5 separate regions of the Homo sapiens genome follow, and regions 1, 2, 3 and 4 are each linked to region 5. The links are contacts of gene promoters, found by promoter capture Hi-C in blood cells and fetal thymus (Javierre and others, 2016). All regions are on one chromosome and are shown on one strand. Each heading gives the region's core, a stretch centred on a gene start or on the middle of the fragment in contact. The rest is flanking DNA. Distances are from core to core; before and after follow the strand shown.

Evidence for each region. The method cuts DNA at HindIII sites, captures the fragments that hold promoters and counts their contacts. A CHiCAGO score of 5 or more calls a contact.
Region 1: a fragment that was not itself captured here is called in contact with the fragment with the promoter of SAMTOR in region 5 in 6 of 17 cell types (total CD4 T cells, naive CD8 T cells, non-activated CD4 T cells and 3 more); the score reaches 17.9 in total CD4 T cells.
Region 2: a contact is called between a fragment that was not itself captured here and the fragment with the promoter of SAMTOR in region 5, in 1 of 17 cell types (total CD4 T cells). The highest score is 8.4, in total CD4 T cells.
Region 3: a contact is called between a fragment that was not itself captured here and the fragment with the promoter of SAMTOR in region 5, in 1 of 17 cell types (activated CD4 T cells). The highest score is 5.9, in activated CD4 T cells.
Region 4: a fragment that was not itself captured here is called in contact with the fragment with the promoter of SAMTOR in region 5 in 7 of 17 cell types (total CD4 T cells, non-activated CD4 T cells, naive CD4 T cells and 4 more); the score reaches 24.5 in total CD4 T cells.

The regions. Positions count from the first base shown.
Region 1 is chr7:108,512,156-108,514,855 of GRCh38, forward strand. PNPLA8 (patatin like domain 8, phospholipase A2) reads right to left here. Exons shown (of 11, transcript NM_001256007.3): 3 at 2,281-2,700; 4 at 1,989-2,138. Among named protein-coding and RNA genes, the nearest start is that of PNPLA8, 13 kb to the right of the region's middle. The HindIII fragment of the contact is 2,356 bases long and covers 81-2,436 here.
Region 2 is chr7:108,587,313-108,590,012 of GRCh38, forward strand. No RefSeq gene overlaps it. Among named protein-coding and RNA genes, the nearest start is that of DNAJB9, 19 kb to the left of the region's middle. The HindIII fragment of the contact is 6,518 bases long and covers 1-2,700 here.
Region 3 is chr7:116,864,208-116,866,907 of GRCh38, forward strand. The region is part of intron 1 of CAPZA2 (capping actin protein of muscle Z-line subunit alpha 2); the gene reads left to right. Among named protein-coding and RNA genes, the nearest start is that of CAPZA2, 3.0 kb to the left of the region's middle. The HindIII fragment of the contact is 873 bases long and covers 871-1,743 here.
Region 4 is chr7:108,529,042-108,531,741 of GRCh38, forward strand. It overlaps LOC124901722 (a long non-coding RNA gene), which reads left to right. Exons shown (of 2, transcript XR_007060473.1): 2 at 410-741. Among named protein-coding and RNA genes, the nearest start is that of PNPLA8, 4.3 kb to the left of the region's middle. The HindIII fragment of the contact is 4,198 bases long and covers 1-2,700 here.
Region 5 is chr7:112,938,449-112,941,148 of GRCh38, forward strand. SAMTOR (S-adenosylmethionine sensor upstream of mTORC1) reads right to left here and starts at 1,427. Exons shown (of 5, transcript NM_152556.3): 1 at 1,143-1,427. The coding sequence starts at 1,302. RefSeq lists a silencer at 1,256-1,355 and enhancers at 1,385-1,901, 1,556-1,895. The HindIII fragment of the contact is 2,363 bases long and covers 179-2,541 here.

The sequences.
Region 1 (2,700 bases), core at 9-2,508, 4.4 Mb before region 5:
TAACTTTGCATGAGCCAGAAATAAAACTGTTTTGTTAAGTCACTGAGATTTCGGTGTTGTTTGCTATTAGAGCTTAAGGAAGCTTAATCCAATGAACACAAATAAACTCTAATACATTACAGTGGTAATCTGAGGGTAAAATATATTATTTTTATTTTCTTATCTTTTCTTTCTTCTAATTCCCTACAATGCTTTGTGCTGCCTTCTTTCTAAACAGTCAAAGTTCTTCTTTTTAATTAAAAAACATAATGAAAGGAGACCACCTTCATCACAGTGAAAAAATTATCACAGACAATTCCCTAAATGTGGCTGCCATAAATGTAGCATACAAAATAAGTAACTCATTTTTTTTTAGGGCATTACGTATCAGACATAATTCCCTGTATTTAGCTACCTTAAATATGGTAGACACATAAAAAAGTAAAATTGATACAGATGTTTTATAAAAATTCTATCATTTTTAAAAAGCTCAACTCTTGATAATAACAAAAAGTTTAGCTGGAAAAGTTCACACTAGAGTGTACATGCTGACACGTTATATGCAATTTGTCCAGTTCACTGTTTTTCAGATGATTATTTAAGGGAAGGGTGACAACTTTTTTCAGACTACCTAGATTTTTATTCATAATTGATCTGAATATATATTCCTATATTACATTTTTTCATAGTATTGAAAGGTCCTTAGATTTGGGATTAGTTATGCAAGATAAAAGAGTCCTCAGAGTTTCAATTAGCAAGACTATTTAAACTGCAACTGAAAACTACTCAGAAATCCATCAGTAGTACAACTGGCCTTGTAAAAGAGGTTGAAGTGAGCCACCTTGCCCCTTCTGCCATCTAAGTAGGTCATGAGAAGCTGCTGTCTAGGAGGAACGGGACTCTCACCAGACATCAAATTGTTGGTGCCTTGATTTTGGACTGCCCAGCCTCCAGAACTATGAGAAATAAATTTCTGTTGTTTATAAATTACCCAAGCTAAGGTATTTTATTATGACAGCCCAAATGGACTAAGCCAGTATGTAATTCTATTTAAGATCTTTGCTTTCAGTATATCACTGAAATGTGAAATATACTTAAAAGCATATGTATATTTGAGAATCTTATCTTTTATGTAAGATTATATAAATATAAAATATAATCCCAAATTATAGGACCATAAAATAGTGAAGCTACCTATAATAATGTATGTGTTATACAATACACAAGTAAGGATGGGTACATTATTCAAAGACAATTTTTCAACAAGGTAATTGTTAAAAAGTAGAATAAATGTGTTCTAAGTTAAAACAATTTTCTGAATGCCAAGCTAAAAATAAGCACTAATAGATTTCTAATGAAATGTAAGCAGTATCTATCATTATGATATTTTCAAATTTTTCATTAAATATTACAAATAATCTTAATAATATAGATGTAAAGAGACTCAATCACATTAGTCATATTTTATAGCACTTCTCTGAAAACAGTCCATTTAAGTGGGTCTAAATTATCTTCATTATTTTATAGTTGAAAAAACTGAGGCAAAGAAAAGCTCATTGTTTTACTTAATATGATTACTAATTCAATTATGAGTAAGGTCATTCAAATTTTTAGACTTTCAAATACGAAAGGACCATGAAATAAAAACAACAGCCTCACATATGAATTATGTCTCCTATCTTAAAAGAACAGTTACATAGTATAAATATTTACATTGCACTAAAGAAAAATCTGGCAGCTGTTAGGCAATTCAACTAATAAACTGATTATTTTCTATTTTATAAATGTTTAATTTCAAAGTATACATATTGGTGCTAACAAAATAAAATGAATTGATTAGCATAATGTATGTCACAAAATAAATAGGGTAATTACTGAATACACATCACATGTATAATAAAAACCACAAAATTCAAATGGAAAAATGAAAGGCTTTGCCTTCTCCATTTTAGATTTTTTTTAGTACTTCTATTCCAAGACAAAACTAGATTAAATAAATTAGAAATTACCTTGACAGCCACTCCTTTTCCTTCAGGAAATTCTAGAAGATGAAAAGTCAGTTCTTCAACCCTAGTAATGCAGAGCTTTGGGTCAGTTGTTCTTCTTAATGCCTGAACTAATGCCCGGGTCCTGTTATCAATACTCACCCTTGCGATAATCTACAAAGACATATTAAATAGATATGATTAGAATACAAAACTGCTCTAAAGAACAATGAAAGTTTCTTAGTTCTCATTAGGAAATAAAACTTATAAATTTGACAAAAAGTAATAGAACCGAAAAGCACACTGAACAACTTGCCTTTTCTCGCTGAAGAGATAAACGCTTTTTCTCCTCTGCATTTCTGTCTTTGCTGACAGCCTGATCAGTTTTAGCAGGCTCTTCCTGTTCTTCTGACTGACTCTTTGAATCATACTTTAATTTGGGGACAAGTCCACCAATATAACCACCTACTAAAGCTTGTACACCTTCCGTGGGACGAGAAAGAAAGTTAGCAATACTTTGTTTAGTTGAAACTTGAAGAACATCAGGTATCGCAGAAGGACTTGTAGGCTTGTCCACCGTATGTACAGATTCTGAGCCTGGCTTATAAGCCAGGATGCCAGGATCTGGAGATCTTAATTTCCCCTCTTCTACCTTTTTATCTTCAAGTTCTGATTTGTCCCGGAAATGTTCATTTTCCTTTTGTTGAGACATTTTTTCCTTACGTTTGAAATATGA
Region 2 (2,700 bases), core at 153-2,652, 4.4 Mb before region 5:
CCTTTGTATTAGCCAGGGTTCTCTAGAGCAACAGAACTAATAGGGTATATATTATAAATAAGGGGATTATTAAGGAGAATTGACTCACATGATCACAAGGTGAAGTCCCATGATAGTCTGTCTGCAAGGTGAGGAGCAAGGAAGCCAGTGGTGGATCAATCTGTGGCCAAAGGCTCGAGAACCCCTGGCAAACCACTGGTATAAGTCCAAGACTCTTAAAGCTCAAGAACTTGGAGTCTTATGTTCCAGGGCAGGAAGCATCCAGCACAGGAGAAAGATGAAGGCCAGAAGACTCAGCAAGTCTACTCTTCTGTCTTCTCCTGCCTGCTTTATTCTAGCTGCACTGGCAGCTGATTAGATGGTGCCCACCCAGATTGAGGATGGGTCTGCCTCTCCCAGTCCACTGACTCAAATGTTAATCTCCTTTGGCAACACCCTCACAGAACATCCAGGAACAATACTTTGCATCCTTTAATCCAGTCAAGTTGACACTCAATATTAACCATCACACCCTTCTTCATTCTGTACTAGCCAGACAGGAATCCTCACTCTTCCAGGAACACGCCAGGCTTGCTTTCTCTTTAGGGCCTTTGCACTAGCTGGTTCCTCTGTTTGGAGCATTCTTGATTATACAGCCAATCCCTTCAGCTTCTTCCAGTCTTGGCTCACCTGTCACCTCTTCAATGGGGCCTTTCTGGCCACCCTATTTAATACCACACTGTGTCCCTCCTCCCTCACACTCTCCATCCCTTTATCTTACTCTGTTTTTATTTTCACACAGCACTTATCACCTTATTTCATTACTTATTATGTTATTATCTGTTTCCTCCTGATAGAATATAAGCTACTTGGAGGTAGGGATCTTCCACTGCTGTGTCTCAAGTGCCTATATCTGTGACTGGTATAGGGTAAATTTTCCATAACTATTTAGTGAATAAGTAAATTCGACGTCATATGTGTATATCTCATAATTTGATTTTCTGAAAAGTTACAAAATCCTTTACTTATATGATAAACTAGACTCATCTGCATTGGGACATCTTCCTTATACCAAATAAATGATATCTGTTAATAAAGATATTGGGATACAGGTTTAGTCATCCACAAATTTTTTTTAAATTTTTTTTTAAATTTTTTTTTTTTTTTTTTTTTGAGATGGAGTCTCGCACTATAGCCCAGGCTGGAATGCAATGATGTGATCTTGGCTCACTGCAACCTCCACCTCCTGGGTTCAAGTGATTCTCCCGCCTCAGCCTCCTGAGTAGCTGGGATTACAGGTGTGCACCACCACACCTGGGTAATTTTTGTGTTTTTAGTAGAGACAGGGTTTCACCATGTTGGCCAGGCTGGTCTCGAACTCCTGGCCTCAGGTGATCCACCCGCCTTGGCCTCCCAAAGTGCTGGGATTACAGGCGTGAGCCACCGTGCCCACCTCACAATATGTTTTTTTAATCCCAAATGATAACATCTCTTTTTCTATAACTTTTCTATCATTATTTTTCTTCCAGATATTTTAGTGTGAGAAAATAATTTTCTGTTCAAATGCCATTGTCCAAACTGTCAGAGATACTATCTTATAAGGAATTATTATTGGAAGGAAACAAAATCAGTTTATATATCAATACTGGTGGATCTTGAGATACTTAGAAAACTAGGTCACATCCCCTCAGTTATGAGATCAGAGGGGAACTTAAAAGAAAGAAGACTTTTACCTTGTTAGAAAGTTAAAATCAAGTGTGAACTCTTTTTATGTAGACATCTTCTGTGTGAGTTTATTTTTTAAGGACTTTTATTTATCTTTTTTTTTTTTTTAAGAGACAGGGTCAGCCAGGCAGTGGCATGATCACGATCATAGCTCACTGCAATCTTGAACTCCTGGGTTCAAGCCATCCTCCAGCCTCAGCCTGGACTGCAAGGCATATGCCACCACACTTGGCTAATTTTTTAATTTTTATGTTCTTTTTTTTTTTTTTTTTGTAGAGACAGAGTCTCACTATGTTGCCCAGGCTGGTCTTGAATTCCTGGCCTCAAGTAACCCTTGCATCTCCACCTCCCAGAGTGCTGGGATTACAGGCATGAGCCATCATGCCCAGCTGAGGACCTTTAAAAGAGCAACTCCTCCCTGTCTCAATTCCTCTGAGCTGCTTGTATTGGCACAGTGACATGCAATTGAAATTTCATTTTCAAGCCATAATAAATGGTATACTGAAAATTTCCCCTATTTGTTAGTTACAAACAAAACAATTCTGTCTTTTCCTCCACTTCTAGAATATTTTCAAATTGGTCATATAGGAGGTCAAAAGAAATCTCTATGAATTCATGTTTGACAATCTATAAAGTATGTTTCAGCTGGGACTGCTAACAGAAAAGACTGATGTGAACCTGATATCACCAATGGCTACTTTATGGGACCTGAAAAGAGCTTCATAGAGGATTTCAGAGCCATTTAGCCCTAGGTCCAGCTGTGCCTGAAACCATCTTTCCTTGAACACTTCAGTTATATGAGACAAAAAAGTCTCCTTTTCACTTAAGCCAATTTGAATTGAATTCTAGCACTTGCCACTCACATGGACATTTTATCAAGTGTCAAGGGCAACAAGGAGTTACACTGAGTTCCCCCAGAGAAGGAAGGAGAAAGATAGAAGCACAAGGGAAGCTAATGTTTAGATCACAAGATAGAAACTGCTGCCCAGGAGGAGA
Region 3 (2,700 bases), core at 57-2,556, 3.9 Mb after region 5:
CATTCTTAAGTGATGATTAGTAGCTCAAGTGGCTAGAAATCTAGCTGAAGAGAGACTACTCGGTGTGGGAGTTAATATAGACCTGCCATGTGTTGTAAAGGCCTAAAATAAAAAAGTTTTTTAAAAATGAGATAACAAGATGCCTTATTATCTGGCACTCTCAGGGCACTAAGCTTCATAAAGAGGAATGAGGAGGTTGTGTGTCTTAAAGCCTGTGCCGCCTAGTAGCAAAATGTTTTATGGTTAAATGAATGAAAATTCTAATTTGATTTTTGATGTTTTGTAAGAATATTATGTAGATATTTTACATATAAATTTTATCACTATATTTACTAATTTAAAAACTGACAAAACCTTTAGGTTAAATTCAAGTAACCAGTAAAGTGAAATTTTAACGTTCTTGTCACTTGAGATATCTAAAGGTTATTTTCATTTTGGGGGAGGAGGATGTGTCCAGTATGGGATCAGAAAACAGAGAGGACTTAAAAGTGATATTTTAATATTACTCGTTCTACTGCCTTATTGGTAATTTTCAAAAATAAGCTCTTAAGCTGGGCACGGTGGTTTGCACCTGTAATGCCAACTACTCTGGATGCCAAGGTGTGGAGGATCGCTTGAGCCCAGGAGTTGTAGACCAGCCTGGTAACATAGCGAGACCTCATCTCTAAAAAAAAATATTAAGTTTTGAATACTTTTAAGTTTTTGAAATTTCCATTCTAGATTGCAAATTTAAGGAAGAGAAGCTGTTAAGATGTGTCTAGTACCATACTTTATATATGCTTGGCTCAGTTAGATACATTCATTACTTAATTTGTTGTTGTAAGAGGTAGTTCTATTACCATTTCACAGATGAGTAGAGTGAGGTTCAAAAGCTTTAAGTAGTTCACCCAAGGACGGTCAAGATGAAGGTAGTATTTAAAGTTTGTCTTAGTCCAACGTTGATGTTCTTGTGACATTATGCGCTCTCTTCTTTTTTTTTTTTTTTTTTTTTTTTTTGATACAGAGTCCCACTCTGTCACGCAGGCTGGAGTGCAGTGGTGCAATCTTGGCTCACTGCAACCTCTGCCTCCGGGGCTGAAGCGATTCTTCTGCCTCAGCCTCCCGAGTAGCTGGGATAACTGGCACATGCCACCATGCCCAGCTAATTTTTGTATTTTTAGTAGAGACGGGGTTTCGCTATGTTGCCCAGGCTGGTCTTGAACTCCTGACCTCAGGTGATCCACCCCCCTCGGCCTCCCAAAGTGCTGGGATTACAGGCGTGAGCCACCATGCCCAGCAGACATTATGCTTTCTTAAACAAAATTGATAAGAACCTCTTCTGGTTTTGTCTCTTCATTTTTAATTTGTTGACAGCTTATTTTGAAAAAGGAGAAACGTTGATTCTTCCTTAGACAGGGTCTCACTCTGTCCACCCAGGCTGGAGTGCAGTGGTGATCATGGCTCACTGCAGCCTCAACTTCCTGGGCTCAAGCAGTCCTCTCACCTCAGTCTCCCCAAGTAGCTGGGAGTACAGGCAGGTGTGCCAGGACACCCAGCAAATTTAAAAAAATTTTTTGTAGAGACAAGGTCTCACGATGTTGTCCAGGGTGGTCTCACACTCCTGGCTCAAACGATCCTCCCACTTGGGCATCCTAAAGTGCTGGGATTACGGGCATGAGCCATGATTCCTAGCCCTTTTTTAAAAAGTAATACCAAGCAAATAGTGTTAGGTTCTAAATTTTTGTCTTGATGATTTTAGAATAAAGCTTATTATTAACACATTTAAAGGTGTTATGTTACTGATAGGAAGCATTTTAGAAATCAATCTAGAATAATAGTTTTGTTTTTTAAAATCATACACAATTGCTTTTTGAGGATACTACTATGAAGTTTAATAACCTTTTCTCCTTTGGCCACTGGGTGAATGGGAAATAAATTTAGCTGAAGAACACAATGAAGTTCTTTAAAGCTCTTAACTTGCTATAGTGTGTCCCATAGACTTTTTTTTTTTTTTTTTGAGACGGAGTCTCGCTCTTTCACCCAGGCGGTATCTCGGCTCACTGCAAGCTCCGCCTCCTGGGTTCACGCCATTCTCCTGCCTCAGCCTCCCGAGTAGCTGGGACTACAGGCGCCTGCCACCGCGCCCGGCTAATTTTTTGTATTTTTAGTAGAGACGGGGTTTCACCGTGTTAGCCAGGATGGTCTCAATCTCCTGACCTCGTGATCCACCCGCCTCGGCCTCCCAAAGTGCTGGGATTACAGGCGTGAGCCACCGTGCCCGGCCTCCCATAGACTTTTTTACATAGTTACAGAAACCCTAGGCCAAAAACAGTTCATTTTCATTCCTGGGTCAGCTGTATTGTACAGTAAAGCATTTTTGTGAATTTGAAATTGTATGAAATTATGGTGTAAGGCTCAATTGAAAAGACCCATTCCGAAACCTCTCTCTGGATAAGAGATTCAAGTTCCAGAAGGAATACACTTAGTTACTGATGGGAAAGATCGTTTTTCTTCCTGTAACCCTTTACCTCAGTGATTACAATAATCTGTCCCATAGCTTCAACTTTTAGGTCTTTGCAGTTGTCTCCCAGGTACATAGCTGTAGCACTAACTTCTTTCCTGATTACTGGTCAGATTTTTATCTGCTATTCATGTTCACTGGAGATGGTTAATTAGGTATGTTCAAATGGAGCTTGCCTAGAAGTAAATTTATAAACGCCC
Region 4 (2,700 bases), core at 95-2,594, 4.4 Mb before region 5:
TTTATTATTGATTTATCTATTTTAGCTCTTCTACATCCATAGTCACTCCTTTCTGGTCTGGTTCATAGCTTTTTAAAAGAGCTGCTAATATCTTTATTGTTCAAATAAAACTTAACATTATAACCAAAATAAATTAAGCCATATTGGTGCAAGATATCTCTCCAGATCACCTAAGGGAGGGATATGCCAGAAAATAATTCTAGAAGAATAATCACCATGGTAGGCTGAAGAATGGCCTTCTAAAAAATGCCCATGCCCAAATCCTTAGAACCTGTGAATATGCTACTTTACATGGCAAAGGGGACTTTTTGCAGATGTAATTAAGGGTACAGATTTTAAGAAAGGAAAATAATCCTGGATTATCTCTGTGGGCCCAATCTAATCACATAAATCCTTAAAATCAGTACAGATGTGGCAAAGCGAAAGTCAGAGAGATCAAGATAATGAGAGGAACAATTTGACAAGGAATGCAGGTTGCCATAGGGAACCAAGAGCGGCTCCTGACTGACAGCCAGCAAGGAAATGGAGACCTCAGCCACACAGCCGCAAGGAGTTGAATTCTGTCAACAACCTAAATAAAACTGAAAGCACACTCTTCCCCAGAGGTACCAGACAAAAGCTCAGGTAAGCTGACACCTTGATTTCACCCTTATGAGACCTGGAACAGAGGAACCAGTCAACTCTTGCTGGACTTCTGACCTACAGAACTGTGACATAATAAACTTGAGTTGTTTTAAGCCACTAAATTTGAAGTGTTTTGTTTCAGCAGCAATAGGAAATTAATATAATTATCTTTATATAGTTTGAAAACATGAAAGCAAGGATTTTCTGTTTTGATCCTTAGCACCAAGGCACAGCAATTATTAATAAAGTGTGGCCCGGAGCGTTGGCTCATGCCTGTAATCCCAGCACTGTGGGAGGCAGAGGCGGGTGGATCACCTGAGGTCAGGCGTTGGAGACCAGTCTGGCCAACATGGTGAAACCCCATCTCTGCTAAAAATACAAAAATTAGCTGGGCGTGGTGGCGGGCACCTATAATCCCAGCTACTCAGGAGGCTGAGGCAGGAGAATGGTTTGAACCCGGGAGGAGGAGGTTGCAGTGAGCCGAGATCGCGCCAATGCACTCCAGCCTGGGTAACAGGGTGAGGCTCCGTTTGAAAAAGAAAAAAAAAAAAGTTAATTGTTCAGTAACTATTTGGTGAGTGCATATTGAAAGAATTGAATTTATTCATTCAGCCATTATCTACTGAGTGCTTACTATGTGCCTGGCACCAAGCTATTTGCTGGAGGTAAAAAATTGAAGCACTGTCACGGAACTCAAAATATAACCTTAGGTAATAATACTATTAATGTAGAAAGAGCACTAATGGAGACATGAACTGGATATTATGAGTCTAGAGCAGGAATACCTACCCCAGCCTGTGGTGTTGGGAAGGAACTTCTGAACCAAGTCTTAAAAGATGTTGCTAGCAAGACAGATGGCAGTAGTGGAGTGGTAAAAGTGGGAAGAGAAAGGAGAGAGCTTTACAGAGAGAAGTGATGTTTGTAATAAAAGGCAATAAGGCAGGAAAAAACATAGTGCATGAAGGGAACTATGTGTTCCATGTTTGTACTGGAAATGTAATATAAGGATTGGGTGAGAGCTGAAGAACTTGGACCTGATCTTCTGGGTGATCAGAACCACTGTCAGATTCTAAGACAAAAGAATAACATGGTGGAATTTAAGTTTTAAGTACATTTTTTTGGTACCATGAGAGGGCAAGATTTGAAGAAGATGAGGAGTCCTGTTGTTGTCATATTTACTGTTTTCCTATTTAACCTTTTAATAAAAAAATCATTCTTTCTCCACCTTAAAAACTGCCTTAAAGAATTTGCCTATTTATACCTGCAGTTCAGGCCTCTCTATCAGGCTTGAGACCAGTTTATCCAGCTTCCTGCTGGGACATCTTAGAGGAACTAAACCAGTGGGAAATAAACCAGTTATATATAAGGTGATTTTCTGGGTGAAGAAAGAATAGTTTTATTAATAGACAGGTTATAGCTAAGGTTTTGGCACAAGAGTAGCAACATAAAATTAAGATATTAAGGACACATAATTGTATTTTCTCCAACTTACTTTTGAATCTGAGTTAGATTTTACCTTTTACCTAATACTTTTGTAGGTTATTCCATGCCTTGCTTATTTCTATGACAACTCATCCAGTTGAAAAGTTGGAATAAGTCTAAAAATGCCCCCATATTCAATTGCATGTTAATTTCTTTTCTTTCTTTCTTTTACTTTTTTTTTTTTTTTGAGTCAGAGTCTCACTCTGCCGCCCAGGCTGGAGTGCAGTGGCGCGATCTCGGCTCACTGCAACCTCCACCTCCCAGGTTCAAGCAATTCTCCTGCCTCAGCCTCCCAAGTAGCTGGGATTACAGGTGCTTGCCACCACGCCCAGCTAATTTTTGTATTTTTAGTAGAGACGGGGTTTCACCATGTTGGCCAGGCTGGTCTTGAACTCCTGACCTCAGGTGATCTGCCCGCCTCTGCCTCCCAAAGTGCTAGGATTACAGGTGTGGGCTACCACACCCGGCCTCTTTTACTTTTTTATTTGAGATGGAGTTTCGCTCTGTTGCCCAGGCTGAAGTGCTGTGGTGTGATCTTGGCTCACTGCAACCTCTGCCTCCCAGGTTCAAGTGATTCTCCTGCCTCAGCCTCCC
Region 5 (2,700 bases), core at 177-2,676:
CTTTCTAGAGTAGTTGAAACGTGTGTATAAATCAACAGTAACATGATCTTACCTGTCTGTATTCCTTCACTGCCATAATTTTCCTTCTAATCCTAAATTATTAACTAAGTATAGGACTAACACCAGAAGGCTGCTGACTTTTCAGTTTGCAATTAAGCTAAAATGAGAACCAGTGGAAAGCTTTCCTCATTTCGATACTCAGGAGAAGTCTCTCTCCCAAGCCTATGAAAACAGAATTTTCACTGTCAAAATCTTATAAAACAGCTGTGTACAAAAGCCTATATTTAAAGATATCAAGGATAACTGTAGACTCCAACTATAAACACTCTTCAGGCACAGGCAAAAGCCACTAAGGCTTCTTCCCCTATGAGCTTCCACAGAGGGGGTTCTCACCGGAACCCCATCCATGGAAGCCGAGGGTGGGCTTTATCGGCAGGTGTCTTTAGGAGGCTTCCAATACAAACGGTATTTTCAGAACCTGCCCAGATCTCTTCCTCATCGCCTAAATAAACAGTTAAGACCAAGTATTTAAGAAATGGGAGTGGGGGCCACGAGTGTAGCCCGCCCCCTTTTAACAATGTGAAGTCCAGTCAGCTAAAAGGCCTGCTGGCTTCCCAGCCCTGGAAGCCAATGCGAGGAAGGCTCGGCATGGTTGTAGGAATGAAGTACTAGGAAGGGGGTCTGATAAGGAAGCAAATGGTACAGCCGGTAGGTCAAGCGTAAAGGAGGGACAACTCAGGTTTCTTTTCGTCTTTTACAAATGGATTTTACCTGTCTTGTTTTACCTCGGCGTCTCTTGCAAAAAGCGACCCCCACCTCCTCTGTGAGCGTGTATGTGTTTGTGTGTGCCGAGACAACAACCTCAGCACCCCGGCTGGGGACAGGGGCTTGGAGGGGGTGGGGACTCAATTCCTTTACAGGCCTAGAACTCTCCCGAAGGGCCCTCAAAGAAAAGGGGGCGGGGAGGAGCGCGTCTGATGCCGACTAGGGGGCTCAGACCAGGCCCGGGAGAGCAGCAGCGGCTGGGGGGACGTGCAGATCCTTTACATTTTAATGGTGGCCTCTTTGGAGGAGGGAAGAGGTGACAAGCGGTTGGGGGTGATGAGGCCTCCCCTTCCTCCCTCACTCAGCGCGCTGTTTACCTTCTCGGTACTTCTTGCGGAGCCGCCGGTGGACGCTCTTCACCACACCGGAGAGCTTCTCCTGCTCCAGTTTCCGCTCCTGCTCCCGGGGCGGCGGAGTGTTCGGGGACCCGGCCCTCTGCGCACGAGCAGTATTTCGGCCGCCGGCCCCTGGCTCCATATCGCAGCCGCCGCCGCCGCCGCCGCCCCTCAGGCCCCCGCAGACGCTCCCCAGATGGAGGAGGTGGGGTAGGAGGAGGGAGCTGCGGAGGCAGCAGCCAGAGGAGGCAGAGGAACCGGAGCGACAGCCTTGGAGGTGGACCCTCACCCAAAAGTGCAAACTGATTGGTGGATTTTGAGGGCTGGGCGGAAACGGAAAAGGCTAAGGGCCAATGGGCAGAAAGCGCCGGCGGCGAACCCGGTTGTTTGGGAAGGCGAGCAGCTGGAGGAGGCGGAGCTTGCGGGGATAGGGAGGCTGAGGCAGTGGGAGCTCCAGGCCTGGGTGCTCATCTCTTCCCCACCCTCCCCGGATTCTGTGCGCAGGCGCTGTGGCTCGGCCTCGGGAGACGAGCTGTGAGCAACGCGCTTGCGCGTCTCAGTTTGCTTAGTTTGGGCTTTTTTACAGCTCGGCTTTCTGATGTCTTCCATCATTTTCATCCCCTACACTTTATAATCTGTTGCGATGCGGCCAGGGTGCTCTGCTTGAACCTCCGCTGCACCTTGTCACATGTAGGTTCCCTTTAGTTACTTGCGCTTTGAGATGACGTTACACTTCAGGGACCTCAAGCACACAAGCATTCTAAGGCTCAAGGAGAGGTCTGGCTACCAAATGCTAATTTAATTCTCAGGTCGACAATGGTTTATGCCTGCAGTACTACTGCTGGGCAAAGGACATAGAAAATGCGAAAAGGAGAGGGCCAAGAAAAGCAACAGGAGATGCAGGAGGACAATAAGGAACGATGGAAAACTCACAGCAGATGCCCTCAAGAACTTTTGTAGTGACCACGGTGTTAATAAGCAGCCTTCCCTGATCTTATTCGCATCAGCACTCTGAGCTTTTATGGTCAGCTCAGGTGACCTCCTGTCCTTTAATTTGGAGAGTTAGTCTATGCGGAGTGTATCTAAGTGGGTTTGGTAACCTGTTCACCCTCCTCCACTTCTTTTCCATCTCTTGGGGAACGCGATTGTTGACTTCTGTCCCAGAAAGGTGGAACACTGCTCTCTGGAGAGAGGTAGACTGCATTGGCTCCTGAAGTGGTACTGAGGCTGCTGGAGTGTCAGAGATTGAATAGACTGAGAGCCCCTAATGAGTTGTGTTGGATTGTGTACCACTTCCCCATTGCAGGTGTTGGTTACGTGACAGTCTATGGAAATGATTGCAATGGTAACATTTTGATAATGATTTTCTAACTACGAATAAAGCTTGCATTATGTAACTGTTTTATATGCTACCTTCTTTATATTGAATACGCTGAAGAGCAAAGAATTATACACACTGTCTAGGACACAGGAGAAGCGGGAGGTGAAGGGAGATTGATGGAATTTAAAGGCGGAAGATGTGTCCCTACAGCACAGTGAA